Regions from separate parts of the Homo sapiens genome. Here regions 2, 3, 4 and 5 are each linked to region 1. Evidence: promoter capture Hi-C in 16 types of primary human blood cells and fetal thymus (Javierre and others, 2016). All regions are on one chromosome and are shown on one strand. Each heading gives the region's core, a stretch centred on a gene start or on the middle of the fragment in contact. The rest is flanking DNA. Distances are from core to core; before and after follow the strand shown.

Evidence for each region. Contacts are between HindIII fragments. The CHiCAGO score rates a contact against its expected background, and 5 or more counts as called.
Region 2: a contact is called between a fragment that was not itself captured here and the fragment with the promoter of ZNF501 in region 1, in 1 of 17 cell types (monocytes). The highest score is 5.2, in monocytes.
Region 3: a fragment that was not itself captured here is called in contact with the fragment with the promoter of ZNF501 in region 1 in 1 of 17 cell types (monocytes); the score reaches 6.1 in monocytes.
Region 4: a contact is called between a fragment that was not itself captured here and the fragment with the promoter of ZNF501 in region 1, in 6 of 17 cell types (monocytes, activated CD4 T cells, total CD8 T cells and 3 more). The highest score is 5.5, in monocytes.
Region 5: a contact is called between a fragment that was not itself captured here and the fragment with the promoter of ZNF501 in region 1, in 1 of 17 cell types (erythroblasts). The highest score is 6.0, in erythroblasts.

Annotation. Positions count from the first base shown.
Region 1 is chr3:44,725,758-44,730,956 of GRCh38, forward strand. It overlaps ZNF501 (zinc finger protein 501), which reads left to right and starts at 3,878. Exons shown (of 3, transcript NM_001258280.2): 1 at 3,878-4,258. LOC105377056 (a long non-coding RNA gene) reads right to left here and starts at 3,769. Exons shown (of 3, transcript XR_940788.4): 1 at 3,035-3,769; 2 at 1-113. RefSeq lists an enhancer at 3,689-3,758. The HindIII fragment of the contact is 3,071 bases long and covers 1,658-4,728 here.
Region 2 is chr3:44,327,410-44,332,507 of GRCh38, forward strand. TOPAZ1 (testis and ovary specific TOPAZ 1) reads left to right here. Exons shown (of 20, transcript NM_001145030.2): 19 at 841-1,024; 20 at 4,383-4,689. The coding sequence ends at 4,602. It overlaps LOC105377055 (a long non-coding RNA gene), which reads right to left. Exons shown (of 4, transcript XR_940782.4): 3 at 3,411-3,460. Among named protein-coding and RNA genes, the nearest start is that of TCAIM, 8.8 kb to the right of the region's middle. The HindIII fragment of the contact is 4,796 bases long and covers 1-4,468 here.
Region 3 is chr3:44,307,461-44,312,586 of GRCh38, forward strand. TOPAZ1 (testis and ovary specific TOPAZ 1) reads left to right here. Exons shown (of 20, transcript NM_001145030.2): 16 at 2,365-2,530. Among named protein-coding and RNA genes, the nearest start is that of TCAIM, 29 kb to the right of the region's middle. The HindIII fragment of the contact is 4,121 bases long and covers 1,670-5,126 here.
Region 4 is chr3:44,469,936-44,475,370 of GRCh38, forward strand. All of the region lies in intron 1 of ZNF445 (zinc finger protein 445), which reads right to left. Among named protein-coding and RNA genes, the nearest start is that of ZNF445, 5.0 kb to the right of the region's middle. The HindIII fragment of the contact is 1,563 bases long and covers 1,301-2,863 here.
Region 5 is chr3:44,285,424-44,291,101 of GRCh38, forward strand. TOPAZ1 (testis and ovary specific TOPAZ 1) reads left to right here. Exons shown (of 20, transcript NM_001145030.2): 10 at 1,966-2,117; 11 at 2,324-2,416; 12 at 5,348-5,463. Among named protein-coding and RNA genes, the nearest start is that of TOPAZ1, 46 kb to the left of the region's middle. RefSeq lists an enhancer at 4,568-5,678. The HindIII fragment of the contact is 4,346 bases long and covers 1,054-5,399 here.

The DNA of each region.
Region 1 (5,199 bases), core at 2,628-5,127:
CTGTGCTAGTCTGCAGGTTGTGACTTAAGTCCCCAGTTGTCAGCAGGAAGGAGGCATGGTGAGTATGCGTGTCCACGAAGTGTCTGCCAGGAGCAACAGTTCTGAAACTTTCCCTAAGATTGTATTAAACAGAAGATCCCATAAGAAACAATATTTTTCAATTAGAGATTTAAAAGTCCTATCACAATTTAACTAAACGCTTTCAATTATATTGATGTCAGGGTCAACAGGAGGAAAATGCATGCAACTGCAGAAACACACCTGTGTCAACTGGAATACCTATGAAATAGCAGGAACTGAAGAGTAATGCTGGCCTAGCAGGAGGGCATTTGCAGTTTACAAATCCCAAACTGGGCCAGGCATGGTGGCTTGCACCTGTAATCCCAACTACTCAGGAGTCTGAGGTGGGAGGATTGATTCAGGCCAGGAGTTCAAGAGCATCCTGTGGAACATAACAAGACCTTGTCTAAAAAAAATAAATAAATAAATAAATAAATAAATAAATAAACCAGGTATGGTGGTGCATGCCTGTAGTCCTAGCTATTCTGGATGCTGAGCCTGAGGTGGAAGGATCGCTTGAGCCCAGGTGTTGGGAGCTGCAGTGAGCTAGCATCATGCCACTGCACTCTAGCCTGCGTATCAGAGAGTGAGACCCTCTCTCTTAAAAAAAAAAAAAAAAAAAAAAAAAAAAAAAAAAAAAGTACCAAAGTGGAAGCACTTCCTGAGATTTTGGGCCCTGGGATGATAAAGAATTTGAGTGTCTTGCTTATTGTGCACTGAAATTTAATTCATGACTTTAGAAGGACACAGATGGAGCCACGTCAGATCCTCAGAACAAAAGAGAAAAGATGTTGGGGTTGCTCAAGACCACACAACCAGTGTCAGATGAGGTTTAAACTGCAGTGTCCTTGCATTTCATTTACTTTTCCCTGTATTGGTCATACCTCTATTCCATATGCCTCTTTATTTTTTATAGAACTGACTACTTTTTTTTGTTTCTGAGATGGTTTCGGTCTGTTGCCCAGGCTGGAGTGCAGTAGCGTGATCCTAGCTCACTGTAGCCTAGACCTCCCAGGCTCAAGCGATTCTCTCACCTCAGCCTCCCAAGCAGTTGGGACTACAGGCGTGAGCTACCATGCCTGGCTAATTTTTAAAAAGTATTCTCTGGCCGGGTGCGGTGGCTCACGCCTGTAATCCCAGCACTTTGGGAGGCCAAGGCAGGCGGATCACAAGGTCAGGAGTTTGAGACCAGCCTGACCAACATGGTGAAACCCCGTCTCTACTAAAAATATGAAAATTAGCCAGGCATGGTGGCGCGTGCCTGTAATCCCAGCTACTAAGGAGACTGAGGCAGGAGAATTGCTTGAACCCAGGAGGCAGAGGTTGCAGTGAGCCAAGATCATGCCACTGCACTCCAGCCTGGGTGACAGAGTGAGAGTCTGTCTCAAAAAAAAGTTTTTTAATATTATTTTTTGGTACAGACAGATTCTTGCTATGTTACCCAGGCTCATCTCTAACTCCTGCCCTCAGATGATCCTCCTAACTCGGACTCCCTTACAGGCCTGAGCCACTGCATCCAGCCTAGAATTGACCACTTAGTGCTCCAATCTTTTCCTTATCCTGAGGATGTGAGGAGCTCACTTGTATAAGATTGAGAAGCTTTTTGTTCTCAAAATCTCAGACTTTCCTGAGTGTGAGGGTGACAAGTAAGTTGATGATACCTTTTGACCCCTACTTTCTACATAAGGTAGAAACCTAATCTTGACGATATGTGGCATTAGTTTCATTTATCCAGTGGCCACATCAGGGCTAAGGTTATTTTAGTGTTTTGGAACGTTTTTGGTGTCCATCCCTACCATCCGTTTTCCACCTCATTGAAAGAAGCTCAGCCCAAACTGCTATTAAACTCCAGATTACGGTTTCTAGTAACCTCAGGTGCCTCCCTCCAGACTTAATGTCCTCCACACACTACACCCTGCTGATTTGGAGACTCTTTGAAGCCTAATGTTTGGGGAATGAATAATTAGACCTAGGGTCTCTGGCCTGTGAGATGTTAGGGCTGGAGGGAAGAACTTGCTATCTGATTCCAAAGAAGTGCTGAGAATGTGACACCTGGAGAGGGAAACTTAACATTATTGTTACATGGCATGTCAACTGACAATTTTACAAAGGGTCACTTTTTAGCCAAAGATAGCGATGGCCTCAGTCTGTGGCACCAGCATTCCTGATTTGTGTCCAAAAGGGACTCCATTTTGGGAAAACAGCCAATCTGAAGATTGGAATGGATATTTTTTTTTTTTTTTAAGATGGAGTCTGGCTCTGTCACCCAGGCTGGAGTGCAGTGGCATGATCTCGGCTCACTGCAAGTCCGCCTCCCAGGTTCAAGTGATTCTCCTGCCTCACCCTCCTGAGTAGCTGGGATTACAGGGGCACACCACCACGCCCGGCTAATTTTTGTATCTTTAGTAGAGACGGGGTTTCGCCATGTTGGTCAGGCTGGTCTCAAACTCCTGACCTCGTGATCCGCCCCCCATGGCCTCCCAAAGTGCTGGGATTACAGGTGTGAGCCACCATGCCTGGCCTGGAATGGATAATTTCTCTGCTGCATCTCATTAATTTATACAGCAAGTGTTCACTTCTATATGCTGCACACTAGGGATATGATGGTGTGCACACAGCCCTATTGTCCTGAGATTGCAGATCAGTAGGAATGCTTGGAAGTGAATAAGGTACTCTCCACTCATGCCTTTATCTCTGGACTTTACCTGTCAAGATGAGCCCATGTGTGCAAATATTTCCTGAGTTAGAGCCAGCAAGATCTGAAGTTTTGTAGAAAGGGATGGGTGTGCTACCTTGAGGCCCTGAAAGGTCAGTGAAGTCAGGGCAGAACAATAGGTACTGGAGCTGGGATTTGAGACACAGACAATAGTCCTAACATTTACTGAAGATTTAAAAAATACTAGATGTTCTTAGTAATTCACACGTATTAACCTCACTTAATCCTCACAACAACCCTGTGGTACCATTATTATACCTGGTAAGTGAGGAAGCAGGCACAGAGAGGTAAAGTTGCAAAGTTCATACACTGAGAATCAGGGATTTGAGCCCAAAGCAGTGTTTGATTTGTTTTGTTTTGTTTTTGAGACAGAGTCTCACTCTATCACCCAAGCTGGAGTGCAGTGGCTCAGTCTCTGCTCACTGCAACCTCCCCCTCCCAGGTTCAAGTGATTCTCGCGCCTCAGCCTCCGGAGTAGCTGGAATTACAGGCGCCCACCAGCACACCCGGCTGATTTTTGTATTTTTAGTAGAGACAGGGTTTCTCCATGTTGGGCAGGCTGGTCTTGAACTCCTGACCTCAGGTGATCCGCCCGCCTCGGCCTCCCAAAGTGCTGGGATTACAGGAGTGAGCCACCGCGCCTGGCCTGCAGAACTTTTTCTTTTGGCCACCTGAACAAAGATCCTGGGTCAGTAAGGTGTCAGGGGTTTCTGTGAAGAGGTCAGTTTTCTTCCAGATGAGGATGTGTGTGAGGAAGGTGGAAGCCAGTTTTGTGAAAAGCCTTGAGAATCCCCAAAGGACAGTAACATAGGAAGCTAAATGTGGCGGACTTGCAGGATGAACTGATGCACAGTAAGAGCTCCTTGTGGTCGACCCTTCTGACTTCCATCCCGTTTCCCTGTGCTGGAAGACGCACGCCAGGTGGGGTCGCAGGTTGTTTCTGGTGCCGGCTTAACCGGCGCAGCACCGAAACCCGTAGCTGCGTGCGGGAAGGAACCACCGAGCGGAAGCCGCTCCCACCTTCCTAGAGAGGAGACGGTAGTGGTTATTAGCCGAGGCGCGGACTGCTGACGTCACGCCGGCTGGGCGCGTCCGGGACTTACTCCTTTCCGCAGGGCAGCACCCAGGGACCTGAGTGTTGCAAGGTGCGAGAGGGGAGCGCCGCGGGGAGCGCCGCGGGAAGCGCATGGTGAGCGGTTTCTGCTGTGCCCGGCTGCCGCGGGTCGATTCCAGCTCCTCCCTCGGGAAGCAGGGCGTTTTTCTTCCTGGAGGGCCTGTGGAGCGGAGGCCCGAGGCCTAGGGCAAACTTGCCATGAAGAAAGGAGAGGCTGTTCGAGAGCCCTAGGCTGGGAGTCGGAGGACCTGGGTTCGATTTATACATACTTAAGCATGTCAGTGAACTTCTGGGCACTTTAGTTTTCTGATTTCCAGAAGTAAATACTGTTTCCTGCCTTGCCGTTTCCCAAAGTTGTGCGGGTTGAAGTAAGTATATGCAAGAATTAGTGCCTTCCCTTCATTATTTATTCTTCTCTAACAACAACAAAATAGGTACCGTATGAAGACATGTAGACTCAATACTTTAACAGCAGGCACTATTTATTGAATGCTTACCAGCTGGCATTCTTCTAAGTAGTTGCCATGTAGTAACCCACTTATTCATTACGACAACCCTATAAAGTAGTTACTGGTATCGTCTCCATTTAACAGTTGAAAAAACTGGAGCAAAAAAAGGTTAGGTAACTTGTTCAAAAGTCCTAGTCCTGGAGCCCATGCCATACTTGTAAGTTTGCTGGTGGAAGACAGAATGTAATCAGACTAGAAAGTCCTACAGTAGAAACTTGTAAAATTCTTTGAGAATGTAGACGAGGAAGGGCCTTGGAAAAGTCAAAATTTTCCCACAAGGAAGAGGTGTGAAGTTTCACATTTGAGCTAAATATTAAAGGTTGACTGCAAGCTTGAAAATAATTGCTGGCTTATTTGACCAAATGAGGAAATAAAAGAGACGTTTGAAAATAATTAAACAGTTTGTTCAGTGTCAGTTAAGAGATGCTAGTGGATTGGGATGTATTAGACAGGAAACCAGGTTCCTGCCTTTGAATACAGTGTTCTTTGCATTAGGAGGGTTCTTGAAACCTTTCCCTTATGAAGAGTCCTTAACATCTTACAGCAGATACTCCTTACACAAAGGCAATCCTCTTGTTATTTTCGAGAAATTCCCCCAATTCTAATTGTAGGAGGATAACTGACAGGAAGTTTCCCTGCTGTTGATTCAGCCCGTTCTTAACAAGACCCATTCACCTCACGGCTAGCTCATTTAGTACTTTTCAAATAAATGAATAAACAGATTCAATCAAAGATGGACTGGAAGGGCTTGATTTGAGGTTTTTGCTCTTTTCCCATCTGTATATAGAATCAAAGCTTTG
Region 2 (5,098 bases), core at 821-3,320, 400 kb before region 1:
ATCTCTCCTAATAAGCACCTAAACAATTTAAAAGTTAAATCTCTTCTCTTGAAAAGTGAAGTTTTAAAAACATGAATTGGTGAATGTAGCTACAACACACAGATCACCTACAGGATGGAAATGTATTTTATGCCTAGTACTTAGCACAATGCCAGACATTTAGTAGCAACAGTAAATATTGCATAAACTATAATGGTACTATAAATAACTGTGCTCAAAAATAGTTATTCTGAAATTGTCTTGTGTTTACTGTGGCTTGAAATAAATGTCATTTGCCATGATAAGGCCCAAAAGTCATTTTTCAGAGTGTTTTTTTTTTAATGTTTCTCACTTTTTTTGTTTTTGTTTTTGTTGAGATGGAGTCTCACACTGTCGCCTAGGCTGGAGTACAGTGGCACAATCTCGGCTCACTGCAGCCTCTGCCTCCCAGGTTCAAGTGATTCTCCTGACTCAGCCTCCCGAGTTGCTGGGACGACAGGCACCCGCCACCACACCCAACTAATTTTTGTATTTTAGTAGGGATGGGGTTTCACCATGTTGGCCAGGCTGGTCTCAAACTACTGACCTCAAGAGATCCACCCGCCTCAGCCTCCCAAAGTGCTGGGATTACAGGCATGAGTCACCACACCCAGCCCTTCTCACTTTTTATTTAATGTTTCAAAAGCACTTTACAAAGAATAATGCCAAATATACTAGGATAAGCTATCATGTAATTTGTTAATCTACTTCTAATGTGAAGACTTATTCTGTGTAAGTAATTATCGCCTGTAGGTATTTCAGAAATCTAGGTTTTTACCTATTGGGTTTTAGTAAAGTTTGACCTATTATTTGATTTTTCAGGTGCTCTTTCCTTGGGTTGCTACCCACCATTGGAAGGAAATTTATACCGAAAACTTCTTCTAATTCCATCTTATTTATCTGAGATTGAAATGCTCTTAGCTATTGAAATCTTCATGGTATCTAATGCTAGTAGTATTCAGAGTCCTGGAACTTCTACACAGATACTGCAGATAGTTTTGAAAAGGTTGGTTGACATAACTTTAACTGCATTCTGAATGTAGATCATGACTCCCCACACCCACCCTAAGATGTAAATGTTTTATGTGTTTTTATACATACATATATATTTATGTATATATTTATATATGTACTTTATGTGTGTGTATTGCAAACTCTGATATCATTTAAACTAAGAAAGGATTAGACCTGTTTGAGGCTTAAAACCAAACAAGTTAGTAGCATTCGGTAAACACTTTAGCAACTTCAGAGATATAGTTAGATGTTCAAAGAGACGGATCCTCTTTAGGTACCAACCTTTCTTGTGTTTAGAGATCAGTACCTATAAAAATCTTTATCTCTAGTCAACTCAAAAGATCAAAGGACTAGGGTCTAAAAGGGAAATACGTGATCAGCCAAGAATACCATTGAAAATAAAGCCATCAGCCTAGTTTCTATATTTTATAATGCTATATATGCATAAATATTATAAAGTAGGTACTGTACCAGAGTGACACCCTTTCACGTAATTTTGTTTAGAATCCTAGAATTTAGGCATACAGTAGATGGTGTGCCTAAATCGTGGTATGCCATACGATTTCTTGTCAGCTTTATCCAGGAAACTTGCAATATAAGGATCTCCTGGGAATCCTGTTTTAGAGCTTCTTGACAAGAATTTTGCTTCAGTTTACTGGTGTGACAAACCAGATCCTCTGGTTGAATATTACATTAGTTATCTGTTGCTATAGAATAAATTATCCCTGGACCTAATGGCTTAAAACAGAAAATAGTATCTTAATATCTGTGGGTCAGAAATTTCAGAGAGGTTTAGCTGGATGGTCCTGGCTCGGGAATTTTCATGTGACTCAGTTTTTCCACATAGTTGGAGTCAAGATGTTGTCAGAAACTTTAGTCACCTACGTGATAGCTTGCTGGAGCTAGAGGATCCTTTTGCTAGATGGCTCACTCAAATACCTGTTGGGTGGAAGCCTCATTTCACCACATGGGCCTCTCCATAGGTTGGTTAAGTGTCTTCATGACATGACTGACAGCTAATTTCTCCCAGAATGAGTGATCCAAGAAAGAAAAAGCAAGGAGGAAGCTGCAGGGTCTTTTGTGACCTATATCAAGCAAGAACTGTGAAGAGTCTGAGATTTTACCCTATTGCAAGCTACAAGCTAACCTGCCACAGTTTCATAGATGGTAGCATAAGACACAAGACTCCTGTGTCGGAGACAGAGGACTTCATTATTTGTGGTACACCAAACAGCATGATTATCTACGTATTTGCATCATTTCCTCTTGCTCCTAAGTCCCATAGATGGGCCTACATGGATACCTACATATGCCATGAGTTCTGTAACAGGAGAGGAGTACCCAGCTTAGGAAACCCAAATATTTTATGAGTAACAGGCATGCCTGCCCTTTGCTTTGCAGGGAGGTACTGTCTCCATCATCTAAGACTGTGAGCAAACCTGCCCTTTGCTCCAGAAGAAGAAACTATCTTTATCTTTCAAGGTTGTTCACTGTATAATCCTTGTAATTTAGAACAAAGGGTAGGCAGTGACTCTTGCAAAACTTCACAAACTCAAGAGACCCATGGAGAGTTGTCATCCAACAGCCTACTATCCAAAGTTACATACTGTCACTTCTGTTCTCCTTTTTTGTAGATGAGTCTTTTGATCCAGTCCACACTTAAGGGGAGGAGAATTAGGAAGTAAATTATTTTAGTTCCACCTTCAAAAAAACCCACTAAAATTCACCTTTTTTCTTATAGTTCTTTTTTTCAGAGGGCTTCCTTATTTACCACTGTGCACTATGGTGGATAAGGCATCTAGGCTCCCCATCATCCTAATGAGGTCATGGTTTTCTCATAGCTTTCTATTCCCCACACACATGCAACTTCTTTGTTTACTTATTGAATTTGGAAGGTATTTGTAACCATAGTGCATAACTAGTGACATACCTAAATCTTTGATTTTGTCCAAACCAATATATTTTCTCTATTGTCATTATCATGCTAAGCCCTGCCTTGTTACATTTACCTCTCTCTATGAGACAGAATTTTATTCATCTTTAGACTTTTTAAGACTGCACATAGTTGGCATCTGCACCACCTACCAGATTCCCGGGCACCTCTTTCAAAGCTAGAATGTACTAGAAGGTACCTGACCAGTCTTTCCTCTCTCTGACCACTGGTTCCTGTTTCAAGTGCAAGTCCTCACTCCTGTCACTCTAGACTACACTGTGATGTTAATGCAGATAGGCTCCTACTCAGAACTTGCTGCTGGGCCTGGTAGATACCAAGAGTAGGAAGCAGTGAACACAAAGAAAAAGGTGATACTTAATGTAACAGCCACACCTCTATTTTAAATAGTTCCCATTCCCTACCCCAGAGGAAAAAACTGACATACCGTGTGAATTTTATGCAGGTCAGTGCAGTCACAATTGATTGCAGATGGCGCTGGTAGAAAAATTATTAGAAAAATTAATTCTGGCACTTAAGGAAGCACCTTAAATCAGTATTGAAGAAAATAACCAGAAATATAATAAAGCCCCTATAGCTATACAACTTGTTACCAAATATTAGCTACATATTAAGTATTTGCTTATAAGTAAAAATAGTCAATATCAAAGTAAAACTTAACATGTGAATGTTAATTCTAAACTGGATTACATTTAGTATTTTATGCATTCTCATGAATAATTGTAGTTATTCACTTTCAAAATACAAAGATTTAGGTAATTAGCTGTGTTCTAAATCAGTATTTTTCAAACTGGGTTGCAGACTATTTGTGTGGTGAAATCAATTTAGGGTGTTACAACCAGTATTATTTTTAAAATCAGGGTTTTTGTCATCAGGGTATAAGTCTTGTTTTGTCAAATTTATTTTTTATGTATGAAGGTATATACTGGGCCATAATATGTCTTTTTTTTTTGGACAGAGTCTTGCTCTATCACTCAGGCTAGAGTGCAGTGGTGCAATCATAGCTCACTGCAGCCTCAACTTCCTGGGCTCAAGGCCTCCTCCCACCTCAGCCTCCTGAGCAGCTGGGACTACAGGCGCACATCACCATACCCAGCTAGTTTTTAAATTTTTTGTAGAGATGAAGGTCTCACTGTGTTGCTCAGGCTGATCTTGAACTCCTGGCCTCAAGCGATCCCCCCAACCTGAGCGTCCAAAGCGCTGGGGTTATACCACTATGCCTGGCCAAAATGCCTTTCTTACTGTGGGTCATGATCAAAAAAGTTTGAAAGCCACTTTTAGAAGAACATGGTGAGAAGACTATCATAGCTTAGTACCAGTAAATGTAAATGACTATCTTTTGAAGAAACTATATAGCTTTTTTAAGAGTTTCTGACTTTATGAGGTGTTCATTTTATAGGTGTGAAGACAACCAGTCTCGGAGCAATGATGATTATCAAGCTGCAGTAGAAAGGTTAATTATGGCTGCTCGTATATCAGATCCAAAGCTTTTCGTTAAACACATGACTGTCAATGTTAATAAGGAACAGGTTTATAGTTTGGAACATTGTTCTGCCCTGAAATGGTTAAAAGAGAATATGAAGTGGGCTGGAAAGGTTTGGCTTTTCAGTAACCATTAGCTAATAAAGTCTGCTTTTTTTTTTTTTTTAGTTCAAGTAATCATTGTTGAAAATAAAAGGCAATAAAAATAGACAGTTTTCACTATATTCAGCTCTTTGACTTTATTGACTTACAGCAAGTTAATAGTTTTAAAGCACTAAATTTTTATTGATATGTAATTTTCATTGATTTTATTCACACAGAAAAGTGACTTTTCAGATTACTTTTTGACTTTAAAAGAAACTAAGCATGGTAAATCCCACTTTATTCTGAAATCCAAAACTGAATACTGTGCAGCATTTAGTAAGAGGGAGACATAATAGGGAAAATATGCAAGCAGGTAACTGGAGTTTTCAGGAAAACATTTAGGGGTATGAAATAGGTTTAGTGTGTACTCAGTCCAGTCTCTAAAGCTGTACTACATCTGTAATCGAGAATAATAAAACAATATTGAAAATGAACACAAAAATTCAGAATACTTTCTGAATTATACCAAAAAGTTTAAATTACCCTCTG
Region 3 (5,126 bases), core at 2,480-4,979, 420 kb before region 1:
TTTAGTGACTCAAGACCATGTTGTATTACCATTCTTCACATATTCCTGAGGTGGCAGGTGGAGTTATAGACTCAAAAAAGTTCAAGTAGAGGACAGGAAATCCAAAATAGGGAGGAAGTGCTGAGGGATGGAGTTTATATAGAGAGTAGAGTAGAGAGTGTGGTCACTATTGAATTAACTATTAAAGTTTATCTTTTGTTACTTGCTGCTTTTATAAAGAGGTTATTTCACAATTGAATATATACGTTCAATAACATTTAAGTACATGGTCACCTGTATACCTACAAAATTCACGAAGTAAAAAGAAAAAAATTTTTAACCTAGAATGGTTGTATAGTAGGTCTCCAGGCTCAAAAGTCTTCAGGAGGCTTAGCTCTTATTGTGTGGTAGGCCTGGAGTAGGCAAGGTGTACCTTGTGTTTGCTCTCACAATTGAGCTTAAGGTTGGTCATAGCATTAATTTCTTGACTATTTAGTGCTTGGGAATTTGAGGACTATCTAACAAGAAGATCCTTTATAAAAATTCAGACTGGGCCAGGAGCAGTGGCTCACACCTGTAATCCCAGTACTTTGGGAGGCTGAGGCGGGGGCATCACTTGAGGTCCGGAGTTCAAGACCAGCCTAGCCAACATGGTGAAACCCCATCTCTACTAAAAAATACAAAAATTAGCAGGGGGTGATGGCGCTAATCGGGAGGCTGAGGCAGGAGAATTGCTTGAACCCGGGAGGCGGAGGTTGCAGTGAGCCGAGATTGCACCACTGCCCTCCAGCCTGGGTGACAGAACAAGACTCCATCTCTTAATGCCATCCCTCCCCCCTCCCCCAACCCCATGACAGGCCCCAGTGTGTGATGTTCCCCACCCTGTGTCCAAGTGTTCTCATTGTTCAATTCCCACCTATGAGTGGGAACATGCGGTGTTTGGTTTTCTATCCTTGCGATAGTTTGCTCAGAATGATGGTTTCCAGCTTCATCTATGTCCCTACAAAGGATATGAACTCATCCTTTTTTATGGCTGCATAGTATTCCATGGTGTATATGTGCCACATTTTTTTAATCCAGTCTATCACTGATGGACATTTGGGTTGATTCCAAGTCTTTGCTATTGTGAATAGTGCCGCAATAAACATACATATGCATGTGTCTTTATAGACTGCATCTCAAATTTAATAAAAGAGAAACTCAGACTGATTTTGCTGAAATTTTAGAGTATATTTTAATTTTATTTGGTTATTATTTGAGACATTGGTAGATTGGTGAATTTTATCTATTTTAATTAAAAATTTTAACTACTTTAGAAAATTATTTTATTACATAGTATGAATTTTTTAATGAAACCTATTCCTTTTTGAATGTAAAAATAAAATCATTGACAGTAAACTAAACATATCCCTTTAAAAATGCACTCTTTTATACAGTCATCTTGAAGGTAGCTTGACATCATAATAAGCATCTAATTCAAATATTATAGAATATAAAACAAGGGTCTGTACACTAAGGCCCATGGTCCAGAACTCACCCAAAGCCTGTTTTTGTACAGCCCTCAAGCTAAGACTTTTTCACATTTTTAAAGAGTTATAAATTTAAAAAACAACAATCAAAAAGAATGTACAACAGACTAAATGTGGCCTGCAAAGCCTAAGCTACTTACTATCTGGCCATTTACAGGAAAAGCTTGCTGGCTCATGGTATAAAATAATGATATATGTCCAATTTCTGATGTCCAAACCAAAGGTAATTTTCATGTAGAATACATGAAATACTTAGTCTACGGAATTAAGAATTTTAGCTAACAAGTTTATCCTTTTTTTCACTATCATTCTTTGTCTAAATTTTTTGGAAGGTAGGGCAGGGGTTTCACCACACTCCCCAGGCTGATCTCAAACTTCTGGGTTCTAGTGATCATCCCATCTCAGCCTCCTCCTGAGTATGTTTAAATTTGATAACAAATTATTTTCATTTTTACTTTCTCTCCCTCCTGGATCCCAGATTGACCAACAGAAGAGGAGCAAAAACATATAATCAGTAGTTTTCTATGCTAAATCATGGAAGCCTTTCATCACATGAAATCTTAAGGAGAAGTACAGTGTATAAAACAAATAAAAAGAAGGCTTCTGATAAAGGGGGTCTGGTGGTATTGGTGGGAAGAGGTGGTTAATATGAGGCAGAGCCTTGCTTGTTCCTCTTTCCCTTTCATCTGTATGGCTGAACAGGAAGGGGCTTAAGGAAAGAGTCTTGGAGCAGCTTAACAGCCAGCAGTCTAGGATGATGATTCAAACTGGATACTTGGCTTGTGAATAATTATCAGTGGCTTTGTGTGTTTGTAAATGATTGATACCCAATTAGTGTTCTTTATTTTTATTCTAGGGAAGGAAGGTCTTAGAGAAACTATATGAATTAAAAATACACTTTACAAGTTTAAAAGGACTTATAGGGCCTGAGAAGTTAGCATCAAGATGTCAAATTGTGAATGTTGCAGCAGAAATTTTTCTAAAAAGTGGAAGCCTAGATGGTGCCATTTGGGTAATGAGGGGTAAGTCCTGATATATGCAAGCATAAAATAATTCGTTATACTTGTCATGCATTTTTGTCTATGTAATTACCTTAAGTTGATATTGAACTGTGGTTAATAGTTTGGTCTAAACCCTAGTGAACATGTGGGTAGGAAAGGTTGTCATGTAAACTGAAAGGGGAAAGTTAACTTAGCCTTAAAGAAGAAATTATATAAGCCTTTGTTCATTTAAAAACTAGTTCTTGTTGGGCCGGGTGTGGTGACTCATGCCTGTAATCCCAGCACTTTGGGAGGCCAAGGCAGCGGATCACCTGAGGTCAGGAGTTTGAGACCAGCCTGACCAACATGACGAAACCCTGTCTCTACTAAAAGTACAAAAATTAGCCAGGCATGGTGGTGGCCGCTTGTAATCCCAACTACTCAGGAGGCTGAGGCAGGAGAATCGCTTGAACCCGGGAGGCGGAGGTTGCAGTGAGCCGAGATCGCGCAATTGCAGTCCAGCCTGGGCAACAGAACGAGACTCCATCTCAGAAAAAAAAAAGCAAAACCTAATTCTTGCTATGGCCTAGGCTCCATATTAATGCTTTCCCTGAATTATCCCAAATAATCTTCATAGAACCCTGAATTTGGAACTATTAAAATCCCCATTTTATTGATAAGAAAATGCTGTCAGAGATATTAACCAACTTGCCCAAAATGACATAATAAGTAAGGAATGGAGGCCAAATTCAAATCCAGACAATCCAGCTTCAGAGCCCAGGCTTCAGCCGCTGTGTAAAATGGAAATCCTGATTGCAGTGTGCGTAAACTCTATCTTCATATGTATGGGCAAACATGACTTCAAACCAAGATGAGTAGAGCTTACTTTCCTTGATAAGGCAATTCTTCTAAGCAGAAATTACAGTGAAATTAAGCCAGCAGGAACAAATAAGGTTAGTTTGGTATGAGAAAAATTAAAAAGAGCACAATAGTGTTACGATACTAATGAAGCTAATGATAGCGCTGGCTATTTGGACCATCAGGCAGATTTTATTTGATAAAGTGGGATAAGAACGAAAAAACCTCAAGGATCTCAGGAGTTTAGGTGGGAAGATGGAATCAATAAATAAAGCAAATTGAGAACTGTAAAACACACTAACACACAAACACTAGCACATATATATATATTCATATACATGTGATTCATATATGGGAAATATATGTATATAAAATATCTTGTATATGTTCAGTGCTGAGGGTTTAATACAGAGGTTGTGAGTAGGCTTCATTCAAAAGCTCGTTTGTAAAGGTATTCTTCAACTTAAACATAGTCAGTGAGGTTTCCTAAGTGGGAAGAGTACCAAAATACAAAAATGGAAATTAATGAAATATAAGCCAGAGCTCACAAGCTCTGTGAAGAAAGAAGCGATGTGTCAAGAAATGGGAAGGTGAAAATAGTTTATAAAAATGAACTTGGGTCACCTTACGATAGGAACCTCCTGTCTGAAAGTTTGTGGCAAAACCAGTCTTTCTCAAACTAGAAACTGGGAGAGTTTGTGGGAGAGATGTGGAGTGATCTTTGGAGATTTTGTTTTAAATTTCAATGTTTCCGTTTTAGACTAACTTTAAACTTCTATCAATTATAAGCAGTATTCTTTTTTTTGCAGTGACAGTTTCAACTAAAAGTAATTTTCATAAGTAAAATTTTATCTCTACAAAAGAAGAGGCCACAGAAGTATGCTCAGTTGTTCCTAGAATTTTTTAATTCTTAAAAGGGCTCTATAGTGAACAGGCCATTCCCAAGAAAGGAAATACAAATGGCTCAATCTCACTGATAATAAGTGAGATTAATACTCACTTGTAATAAGAGAAATATACATTACAATTACAAACACCATTTTGAACCCATTAGACTATCAAAGATCAAAGTTTGGTGATATGCTTTTTGTGAGGGTATAGAGAAATAGACATTCACAGAGGTTGTCTTTAGGAGCTTTTTGGCAAAATAAATGTCAAAAGTTTAAAACACATTTTTTTTTCATTTACTAATTCCATTTCTAAGAATTTGTACTGCACACACATTTATACCTGTATACAAAGGTATGCATATTAAATTATCTGGAATATTTTGTTACACCAACAATGGTAACAAAGAATTCCAGGTAGCTTAAATGCTCATTAAGGGAATACCAGTTGAACTGTGTTATAGCCATATGATAAAGCAGAATGAGGCAGATCTGTAAGTGTTCATTTGGAATGATCTTCAAGACCTATTGCAAAGCCAAAAAAAAAAAAAAAAACACAGGAATGTACAGAGCAGTTGCTACCATCCGAATAAGAATAATAATACAATGGACAAATACGTATTTGCTTATATACCCTTAAAATATGTGTAGAAGAATGCACAAGAAACTAGTAATAGTGGCTGACTCTGCCTCTGGAAGGAGAAATTGAGTGCTTGGAGGACAGAGTAGCAGATTAACTTTTTACATATATTTTTCCTTTTTAAAAATATGCTTTTATTACCTACTGAATTTGCAAAAGATGGAGTTACATACATTACTCAAGTTTGAGAAATGCGGAATATCTCACACATTTTTTTGTTTGGTGAGTGACAGATTTGATGGCGAGAACAAAT
Region 4 (5,435 bases), core at 832-3,331, 260 kb before region 1:
GCCCGAGGCCACTCTTTTTTCTCACTCTGTCATCCAGGCTGGAGTGCAGTAGCACGATCACAGCTCACTGCAGCCTCAAACTCCTGGGTTCAAGTGATCCTCCCACCTCAACCTCCTGAATAGCTGAGACTACAGACATGTGCCACCCTCACTCTGCCTGACTTTTTTTTAGCGATAGGGTCTCACTATGTTGCCCAGGCCAGTCTCAAACTCCTGGCTTCAAGAGAGCCTCCTGACTTGGCCTCCCAAAGCACTGGGATTACAGGCATGAGCCACAATGCCTGGCGTCCAAGGACACTCCTACACAGCCAAGTAAGGAGAGAGAAACTGTGCACGACTGCTTTTCCCAACAATAACAAAAATATGTGCTAAGTTTGAAAGCACATCCTAAATACGAATTGTGAAAACAAAACGTACAACCGTGTGTGTGTGTGACTGTATACGCATGTATGTGAATGTACCTATAACTACTCAAAGAAATTTTAAAAGCCTGGAAGGATTCACAAAAACTCTTACTGGTGGTGGGGGTAGGAAGGTAGAGAATTGCATTTAAAAGCAACTTTATATTTTTTTTGTCTTCTATTTCCTAAAAGAAAAGAAAATTGAAAAGCAATTATTAGAAAGCATAGTTATACTGTCATTTATGTCTTAAAGCAAATGAAAAGCAAAGCAGTTTACATATGCACATAAAAGCTCCTAAGCCTCACTACCAAAGTATTTTTAGCCATGATTTCCTCTGGGAGGTGGGATGAAAGGGCTCTCCTTCCTTATTTGCCTATGTTGCCTAAATTGTTACCCATTACATTTATAAACAGCAAAGTGATCAATAATTCTCTTAAGAAGCAAAGCAATTGAGTAGCAACTCGTAGGATTGAAGATGGCAGATGCACAGTAGAAGGGACAGCACATTCTTGAGGGGGGACTTGAGTACAAACCATGGCTTCAGCTCAAGCAACTACAAAAGGATGTTCTCCAGTTGAACAGATGTAAGGAGAAAAAAAAACAGGCAAGTGAGGTAGAGAACAAGAAGAGCAAAATGCTACCAAAACACAACATGCAAAACAAAAATAAAAAACCTATCCAGAAAGAAAACAGAAACAAAGAAAAGGAGTAGCCAGCAACAATGGAAGAAAAAAAATAAAAGTTGAAGAAAAAGAGAAATACAAGCAGTGCTGCCATTAATGTTCCACAGACACAGGATCAGCTGACTCTGTACAGATCACCTGCATCCAGAATTTCTCTAATATGACTCTTGGTTCAGTCTAGAGAGCAATCTCATCAGTATCTTCTTGTCCCTAAAAGCTTCTTTATCTAGAAGTAAAAGTACCCAGACATTATTGGTGGAAAAGATCCATCAGTAACAGCCATCAATCTACTCCAGGATCCAAATATGCCCATAAATAGCCACTGAACTGACAAACTAAAGACTCATGAGAGAAGAACTGGAGTGTCTACAAAAAGTGTGAGATGGACAACAGGTCTCAGAACTTGTTGCAAAGTGGCCCCACTACCCTGTGCACAAAGTCACAGATGAAGGTCATATCCCCTGAAAATGCTGACCCCTTCCATCTCCCACCACTGTGAAGCAAATGTAAAAGGAGTGACACTTATGAAATTAAAAGAGCCACCACCTTCTACATTTGCTCTGAACTAATACCTATCCAATGTCCTCTGCTCTCAGCAAGTGCTGCTAATACTGTCAAAAGAAATGACAGTAAACTAAGATGTAAAGAAGACTCACACTAGAAGGCATGCAATCATCCAGGGATAAAAAAGAAACTACAGCCCTACTCTATGGGCCAAGAAGAGGCAAGAAAAGAGCTACATTAGGGATCACACATGCTGAGGAAGCTGCTACAGTTCTGGCAGAGAACTGAAGCCTTGCTGTGAAAAAGGGGAGTGGAGTAAGAATAAGTATTCAAAGGAAAAAAAAAAGGGAAAATGAAAGAAGAAATAAAGTAAATAAATGAAGGCCTATAAAAGGAGACTCGAAGACTGAGAAGCAGTGGGAGCTTCAGGACCAAGAGGAGCAGGCTCCAGCCTCGGTGCGTGCCAGCAGCACAAAAGGGAAGGAGAAACACCTGATCAGGAGAAAGCTGAAAAACAGAAAAAGAAGAGAGACTTTCATGGCCAAACTTGCAGAACAGACAGAAGAGAAAGAAAACCAAAGTATGAAAAGAACCAAAATGCTGCTAAAGATGAAGATAAATCTGGCAATTAAGTTAAAGAGAAAGAAATTGAGGCCAGAGAGAAACACTTTTAAGAAATGTACCCAGTGAAAAATATAAATGGCACTGACCAATCTCAGGAAATTGACACCTACAGTCAAATTAGCTCCAAAAATAAGTCTCCAAGCAGGACTGTTCTGAAGCAGCTGCTGCACAAATGTCCAAAAGGGTCAGTGACTTTTTTTTCCCCCCTACAACAGCTAACTTCCAGATTTTTGGAGGAGGACGGGGGAACAAGGGTTTCACTATATTGCCCATGCTGGTCTTGAACTCCTGGGCTCACACAATTCTTCTGCCTCAGCCTTCTGAGTAGCTGGGATTACAGGCGCATGCCACCTTGCCTGGCAGTAATGTATTTGTAAAGAGGTGATGAGAAGACTGACAGAAAATTCAGGGCGAATGCCTGTGAATATAGTGAGGATTCCAGTCCTTGAGTCAAAGAAAGGTTAGCTCAGCCTCTGCAATCATGAACATGAATAAAGACCTCACGGGCCTCTCAAACTCTGAATGAAAGACCCAGAGCATAGTGAACATACAGCTACCTCAGCAGACAGCTGAGCCCGCCAATGAAATTCAGGTATCTTAATGCCACAGGCTTCTCCCAAGTCCCAACTAGCTTTTAAGCATAGAAGAAAAGCTTCATTTATCTTCTTGCTGAGATTATATCACAATTACACTCAGAACTGGGAAGGAACATGAGCTGGATCTTATTCTCAGGACTCTCCCCCCAGAGCTTTATACCTTAACCCAGTTTCATTCCCACAAAGAAAATGGCTTTGAAAAGAACAGGGAAACTTCCAACCAAGATCTTGATATTTTTCAAGGAGATTTTCTTCTGTTACATTGTTTCTTCACCTCATGGCCAATGTAATTTCTTTGTTTTCCTTTTAATGTCCCCATGAGCTAGTCTCTTATTTTTGTGTTTTCCTACCAGTGTAAGTGTATAGAAGGTATATAAACTGATATTAAGCAAACAGGTTTCCAAGATAATCACCACTTAAGAAAAAATGCAGGCCGGGCGCAGTGGCTCACACCTGTAATCCCAGCACTTTGGGAGGCTGAGGCGAGATCATCTGAGGTTGGGAGTTCGAGACCAGCCTGACCAACATGGAGAAACCCCGTCTCTACTAAAAATACAAAAATTAGCCGGCATGGTGCTGCATGCCTGTAATCCCAGCTACTCGGGAGGCTGAGGCAGGAGAATCGCTTGAACCCAGGAGGCGGAGGTTGCAGTGAGCCGAGATCATGCCACTGCACTCCAGCCTGGGCAACGAGAGTGAAACTCCACTTCACACACACACACACACACACACACACACACACACACAAAAAATGCTTTCAGTATATATTTAAAGCCTTAAAATAATATTTATATTCATTTACCAATTAAGAAATAAACTAATAATGGGAGTGCCCAAAATTTGATTTCTAAATACTATACTATTCTCCAATTAAAACAAACAACAACAACAACAAACAGGGATCCTTGGAGAAGTGACTGATGCCAGGCTGGGGAGGGAAAAATATAAGGGTTTTGGGTGCCAGAAAACAAAAACTAAGGAAGGACTAAAAAAAAAAAAAAAAATCGGGGCAAACAGACACAGCTCCCAATAGTCAAAGAGCTACAATAATTTCAGCAATAAAATAACAACAGTACTGCATTCTAGTGCAAAGAATAAAATAAGTATCCAAAGCACACAATAATATAACTGATTGAATAAATAAATAACAGGGGAGAAGGGATAACTCTTCCTCACAAAGATTCCAATTAATACTTTGAATGAATGAGAATTGTATGTAAGTATCCAATGAATGCCTAGAAGGAATGAAGGAAAGAGAAAGTCAAATCCCAACACCACAGTAGTCATTGCTGCAGGCAAGATCAATCAATGAATGCTACTTAGACCAAAGTTCAAAGAGAAACAGCATCTCATATGCAAAGTAGTAAACTATCTTCCCCCAAATAATTACTGATGACTAGGAGAAAGACAGTAAGGTTCCAGTGGTAAAACTTGACAGAAAACTTGAGATGCAACCAAATTGAGGGACTTTATAAAAATACAAATATAAGGCCGGCACGGTGGCTCATGCCTGTAATCCTCGCACTCTGGGAGGCTGAGGTGGGCAGATCACCTGAGGTCGGGAGTTTGAGACTAGCCTGACCAACATGGTGAAACCCTGCCTCTACTAAAAATACAAAATTAGCCAGGCCTGGTGGCACATGCCTGTAATCCCAGCTACTCGAGAGGCTGAGGCAGGAGAATCACTTGAACCTGGGAGGCGGAGGTTGCGGTGAGCCGAGATCACGCCATTGCACTCCAGCCAGTGCAACAAGAGCAAAATTCCGTCTCAAACAAACAAAAAACAGAACAAACAAAAAAACAAATATAAAACACTTCTTCAGAAGTGTTTTGAAAGACTAAGTAACTGTCACAGATTGAAGCAGACCAAGTAGACATGACAACTAAACGTAATGAGGAATTCTAGATTGGAGCCTACAACAGAAAAAGAATGCTTAAATAAACTTTTAAAAGTCTGCAGTTTAATTAATAGTACTGTACCAACGTAAATTTTTTAATTTTGATGAACGTACTATGGTAATCCAAGATAGCAACTTGAGACAAACTAGGTAAAAGGTGTAAGAGAACTCTGAAAGTCTACAATTATTCCAAATAAAAAGTTTGCTGGCCAGGCGCGGTGGCTCACACCTGTAATCCTAGTACTTTGGACGGCCGAGGCAGGTGGATCACCTGAGGTCAGGAGTTTGAGACTAAAAATATGAAAATTAGCTGGGCGTGGTGGCGCATGCCTGTAATCCCAGCTACTCAGGAGGCTAAGGAGGGATAATTGTTCAAAGGGGATGGGGCGGGGCAGAGGTTGCAGTGAGCTGAGATCATGCCACTTCACTCCAGCCTGGGTGAAAGAGCGTTAACTCTGTCTCAAAAAAAAGGTTTGTCTTATCTTACATTGAGAAGTTCCAGTCATTCAGTCATCATCATTTTTATCTGATTTATTTCCATTTTAGGTATTACAGGTTTTGTTTTGTTTTTTTGAGACGGAGTTTCACTCTTGTTGCCCAGGCTGGAGTACGATGGCGTGACCTCCACTCACTGCAACCTCCGCCTCCTGGGTTCAAGCAATTCTCCTGCCTCAGCCTCCCAAGTAGCTGGGATTACAGGTGCCCGCCACCATGCCCAGCTAATTTTT
Region 5 (5,678 bases), core at 1,977-4,476, 440 kb before region 1:
ACACTGCACTCCAGCACTGGGTGACAGAGCAAGACCGTGTCTCAAAAATAAATAAATAAAATAAAAGACAATGCAGTAGTTTGTGTCAAAATGTATTAAAATGTTCAGACAGTTTCCACCCAACAGTTTAACAAGAAGGTATCATTATTTGTTTTTGATTTTTTGAGACGGAGTCTTCCCCGGTCGCCCAGGCTGGAGTGCAGTCGCACGATCTTGGCTCACTGCAACCTCCGCCTCCTGGGTTCAAGCGATTCTCCTGCCTCAGTCTCCCTGAGTAGCTGTGACTACAGGCCTGTGCCACCATGCCTGGCTAATTTTTGTATTTTTAGCAGAGACAAGGTCTCACCCTGTTGGCCAGGCTGGTCTCGAACTCTTGACCTCAGGTGATCCGCCCACAGCCTCCCAAAGTGCTGGAATTACAGGTGCGAGCCACCACGCCTGGCCGAGAGGATCATTATTTTCAATGCAGATAATATATTAACAGTTTAAAAATAACTTAATGAGGCCAGGTGCAGTGGCTCATGCCTATAATTCCAGCACTTTGGGAGGCCAAGGCGGGCAGATCACCTGAGGTCAGAAGTTCAAGACCAGCCTGGCCCACATGGTGAAACGCCGTCTCTACTAAAAATGCAAAAAAAAAACCTAACCAGGTTTGGTGGTGCATGCTTGTAATCCCAGCTACTCTGGAGACTGAGGCAAGAGAGTCGTTTGAACCTGGAAGGCAGAGGTTGCAGTGAGCTGAGATCATGCCACTGCACTCCAGCCTGGGTGACAGAGCGATACTCTGTCTCAAAAAAATAAATAACTTAATGACAAAAAGGAGAAAGGTTTCATGTCAATTAGTGGACTATTTACACACTGGCTAACATAGATTAACTGCACCTTTTTGAATGTCTGCAATTTCAGTTTTATTAATAAGCTATAATAACACTGAGTTTACCGTTTTATCAGTTGATCAGCTTCTGTATAGGCGACTATATAAATACTGCCAAAAGTATAGCAGCAAGAATTTATCTGTATGTGTCCAGGGAAAATAATTGTAGTATATAAAAAAGCTTTACAAGAAATTTGAATATTGTTATACCATATTATTAAAGTTTTAAAAATTATTAAAACTTTAACATTAATTTTTCATTTGTGCCACTGAACTTTGTCAGTAGCTACTGGCTTTCCTAAACAATACCAGGTAATCCAGCTAGTAATAAATATTTCTAATAGAAGTAATTAACACAAAATAAAACCAAAAGTATTTTTACTAAGGCAGTTAAGGTATACAGATTTTAACCTGGGAAATTTTGGAATGAAGAAAAAAATGATCAATGAAAGAATCCTAATGTAAATAATTTTAGTAAAATTAATGGGGAAAAATTGGAAACATCATGTTACATAGAAAATTAAGGATTTGGATGGGCATGAAGGAAGTACTTTCTCAAAGAAAACTAATCAGCATTGTTGTAATTTTTAGTAGAATGTTCCACAATCACAAACTGAAATAAAAAATATCCCCATCCATGACAAGGCAGGGAGAAGTTAAAAATAATGTCAACATGTTGGTGGGTTTAAAGCAACAAGCATGGGTATGTGTCAAAACAGTCTGCATCCATCACCAAACTATATAACCTTGCATATGTACCAAGGCTACTGCCTCAAGACTGCCTGGGAGCTTGACTCTGTAGGAGCTCATATTGACGCTATGATGTATGGGAATGGCAGTTTGGACCTATTCTTTGCAGGTAGCACATGGGTTACTTCATGCTGAGCATGCTTGGTTGACTTCAAATATTATTGCCATTTTGACTTTTGCTTTAATTTTCATCTACTCTTTCTAATACTAGAACTGTACCTTTCAAGAATTTACATTGAATTCATATTATTTTATCTTTATATATAGAAAAATTATCAAATTTAAGAAATACAGATATCTGAAGCAGCAAATGACTTTAGTATATATATTTTCATTTTCAGTAAACATATTTATGGAGTACTACAGAAAGTTTCCCCCAGGTGTATACTTTGATTTACAAGTGCTAAATGACCTTCTAAATTCTTTACTCAAACATTGTTTGTTGAAAGAAGTATTTCAGATAGTGAACCTCAGCATAATGGTTAAAATGCTGGTAAGTAGCCTGAAAATATATGTTATTTTAATATTTTATGTTAATTTCTCTGTCATATTCATTGTTTGAACTTAGCAGTTGAATTTCTGTATTTGTTGAATACTTCCTAGAAACCACTTGTGTTTTTCAACATAAATGAATTTGAGAAATTTAAGGTGTACTAAAAGAAGATCTGAAAATGAGTGTAATTTTTTTGTTTTATCCAGCCTTCTCTGAAAATATTACTAAACATATTTGAGTATGTGGCAACTATGAAATTAAGGAATGCTGTACCTGCTTTAATTGATATCTTTTGCAAGGTATGGTTTTATTTTCTCTTTTATTCTCTGATGGCGAGTAACCAAGAAAATAATTGTTTCCATGGGGGGGTACCCTTGAGCTGCCTTTTATTCACATTCTGGATGCCAAAGAATTCTATTTCCAGAAGTATTCTTTTTCTCTTGAAATAGGGTTTATAAAAAAAGAATCCAGTGGCTGATAAGCCTTCCTCTTAAATAGTTTCAGACACTCAGATTATTGCTTTTTGATGTATGAATTGTCTTCGTCTCTACTCCGTAAGGATGATTAAATAAAATTTTCTTTCTCTAAAAGACTTGAGATCATTTACAACAGAAATAAACAAACCAAAAAAGACTTACAAAAATATAAAATTCAACTTTTGTTAAATACTTCCTAGTATTTGATACTACTCAATCGTCTACTTCAGAATAGGCCTGATAGGAAAACTGCCAGTTTTCTTTCAGAAGCAACATTGGAAGAACTCAAGCAGAAGAACAGATATGTGAGTGAATACCTCAGATTTCACATTACAAAACTTGACAATTGCTTGCCTAGAGATGTTTGGAATCAAAAGTTACTGATTGCCAGGCGTGGTGGCTCACGCCTGTAATCCTAACACTTTGGGAGGCTGAAGCAGGCAGATCACAGGGTCAGGAGTTCAAGACCAGCCTGACCAACATGGTGAAACCCCATCTCTACTAAAAACACACAAAAAATTAGCCGGGCATGGTGGCGCACTCCTATAATCCCAGCCACTCAGGAGGCTGAGTCAGGAGAATTGCTTGAACCTGGGAGGCGGAGGTTGCAGTGAGCCAAGATTGTGCCATAACCTAGGCAACAGGGCAAAACTCCATCTCAAAAAATAAAAAGTTACTGATAACCCGTAGAGGTTGTAGAAAATCTCAGTAAGGATTCCATAAATTGTCTGATACTGAATAACTTGGCTTTCTGCAAAATGTACCCCGCAGTGACTGTCTAAATAAAATTACCCTTAGTGGAGAATATCTAACAAAGACAATGATTTTCATTTTTGCATGGCTAATATGGAGCCATCATTTCTGGAAGTTGTTTAAAACCAGTGCCAATTTCCCTGTTAAGACTATTTCAGGGTTCAGTAATAACACCATAATATCATCATGGAGAAAGATGCTTTTCCTCCTCTTTATTCTAGCAGTGTACCATACTCCATGTATTTAACAAAAATATCACTGAGAAAAGATAATTAACATTTTTGTCCTGCCTTAGATTGTTACCTAGTCTGTTACAATTTATATTTACCCTGGTCTTTGAGCAGTGTTAAAGGGCAGAGTTTTTAAGGCATGTCAGTTACCAGATAACTGATTTGTTCTCTTGCAGGTTTGTTTATAGTTGGCCTTGTTCATTTAGTCAAAAGTCGTTGCAAGGTCAGTGAATACAGTTAGACCACCAGTGACCCTTTCAAATGTTGTAGAGCGTAACAGTAAAAAAATCATGATGTCCAGTCCTTTACTTCATGATGTTTGGAAAACTATTTGTTAAGGTAGTGGATTGGTAGGTTTAGGAGAGGAGCTGTTTTCCTCTTTTAAAATAAAATTGAGCATGCTTTGAATCTAGAGGAGCTAATAGAGCTTAAGGATTAGAGCCTAATCTTTAGAACAGGCTTTAAATAGTCATTTTTACAGGATTTTTTTTTACCAAAACTATTTTTAGTTAAAGTTGTTGAATAACGTGTCTTAGGGTAGCATTTCTAGGACCCATTCAAAAGGGGCCGAGTACCACTAAATTTGAGACAATTTTCCTTGGAGTTCAAAGGTGGGGAAAATCTCTCAGCAGCTTGTTACTATTGTCCTTCACTAAAAGAAATTCTATCTCAAAATATATAATTGTGAGTTCTAACAGCCAAATTACAGCATCTCACATTATACCTTGAAACAGGTAGCTTCTCCACTTACCCCTGGTATTGTTTTGTTATCCTACCCCAAATTCTTATTTCCTAGTACTCCCTTCAGATCTATACTGGAGACAAAGCATACATTCTCCCAAACATTCAAAATATATTTTGATATTTAAGTAATTTCTTAAAAGGGGAATTTTTCTGAAAACCAGAATAGAACCAAATAAAATTCTCAGCAAAAATATTGCTCAGAGAATTTCAAACACCACTCAGTTGAGTCATTCTTAACTCTCTAAATCCTTGTCCAGGGTAGCTAGTCATAATACCTTTGAAGTATTATGGAGGTATTGGAGGACCTAGTCATTATACCTTTGAACCAAGGTCAAGAGGATCATTTGAGCTGGGGCAACTAATAAGACTGCCAGCTCACAACCTTGTATCTTCCCACGTTTCCAGGATAATGTCATGTAGAAGAGCTGTCAGAAAAGGCCTGCCTCTCATTCATCTATTCTCACACTAGAAGTGTCCAGATATTCCCTTGTTGGTTCTCTTCATTAGCGTTGAGGCTCATGAAGAAGACAGGAAATGAGTCATATGTGAATGACAGATAAAGCCTTTGAATTGGTATTTTTTTAATTACGTGCTATGTTACATGTGGGCAGTTGGTCCACCTGAGTGATTAATTTATCAAGGAATCACTGATTCTTCTCTGGCCATGGCCCTATGTGAGGCACAGGAACAATACTTCTCAGGAAGTTTATAATCAGGGATGAGGTATGAATACCAGTCCTAGATTAGAAGACAGACTGAGTACTAAATAAGAGGTATATATGATAAAGTGGTTGAGATAACTTAGAGAGCAGGAAGAAAATCCAAAAACTTAATATTTTCATTTTTGCTTTAAATTCTTAGGATATCTTTTTGTGGTTCTGTGCCTCAATTTTTTTAAATGAGTTTTATTCCACTTGTCTCCATGTTTCACTTCTTCCATTAGTGTCTTAGTTGTTTCACACACATTGGCTCCTCAATTCTGTCACATTTTTGTAAGAATAACCACTCTTTCTTTTCTCTTCTACAGCTTGTTGAAGCCGGGATGGTGCTTGACCCAGAGCACTTTAACTATATTGTTAAGCTTTTATACCAAGTACAAGCTTCCAAACAAGAAATAACTGCAGTTCTGGAAATGAAATCGAGGTGAGAAAAATCATTATTATTTAAGCCAAAATATATGTGTCTTGGTGGGGACTTATAAAAGCTGAAGGCAAAGCTCTAATAACTGTTTGTATGCCCAAACATTTAGATAGTGGCCTGTCATAAACCCTTCTCCTGTCTCTTGGCTGTGCCCTACTTTAGTCAAGCTGCCTGTGGCCAGCCTCACCTTATTTTTCTTAGTACTTCATTTCCTCTCA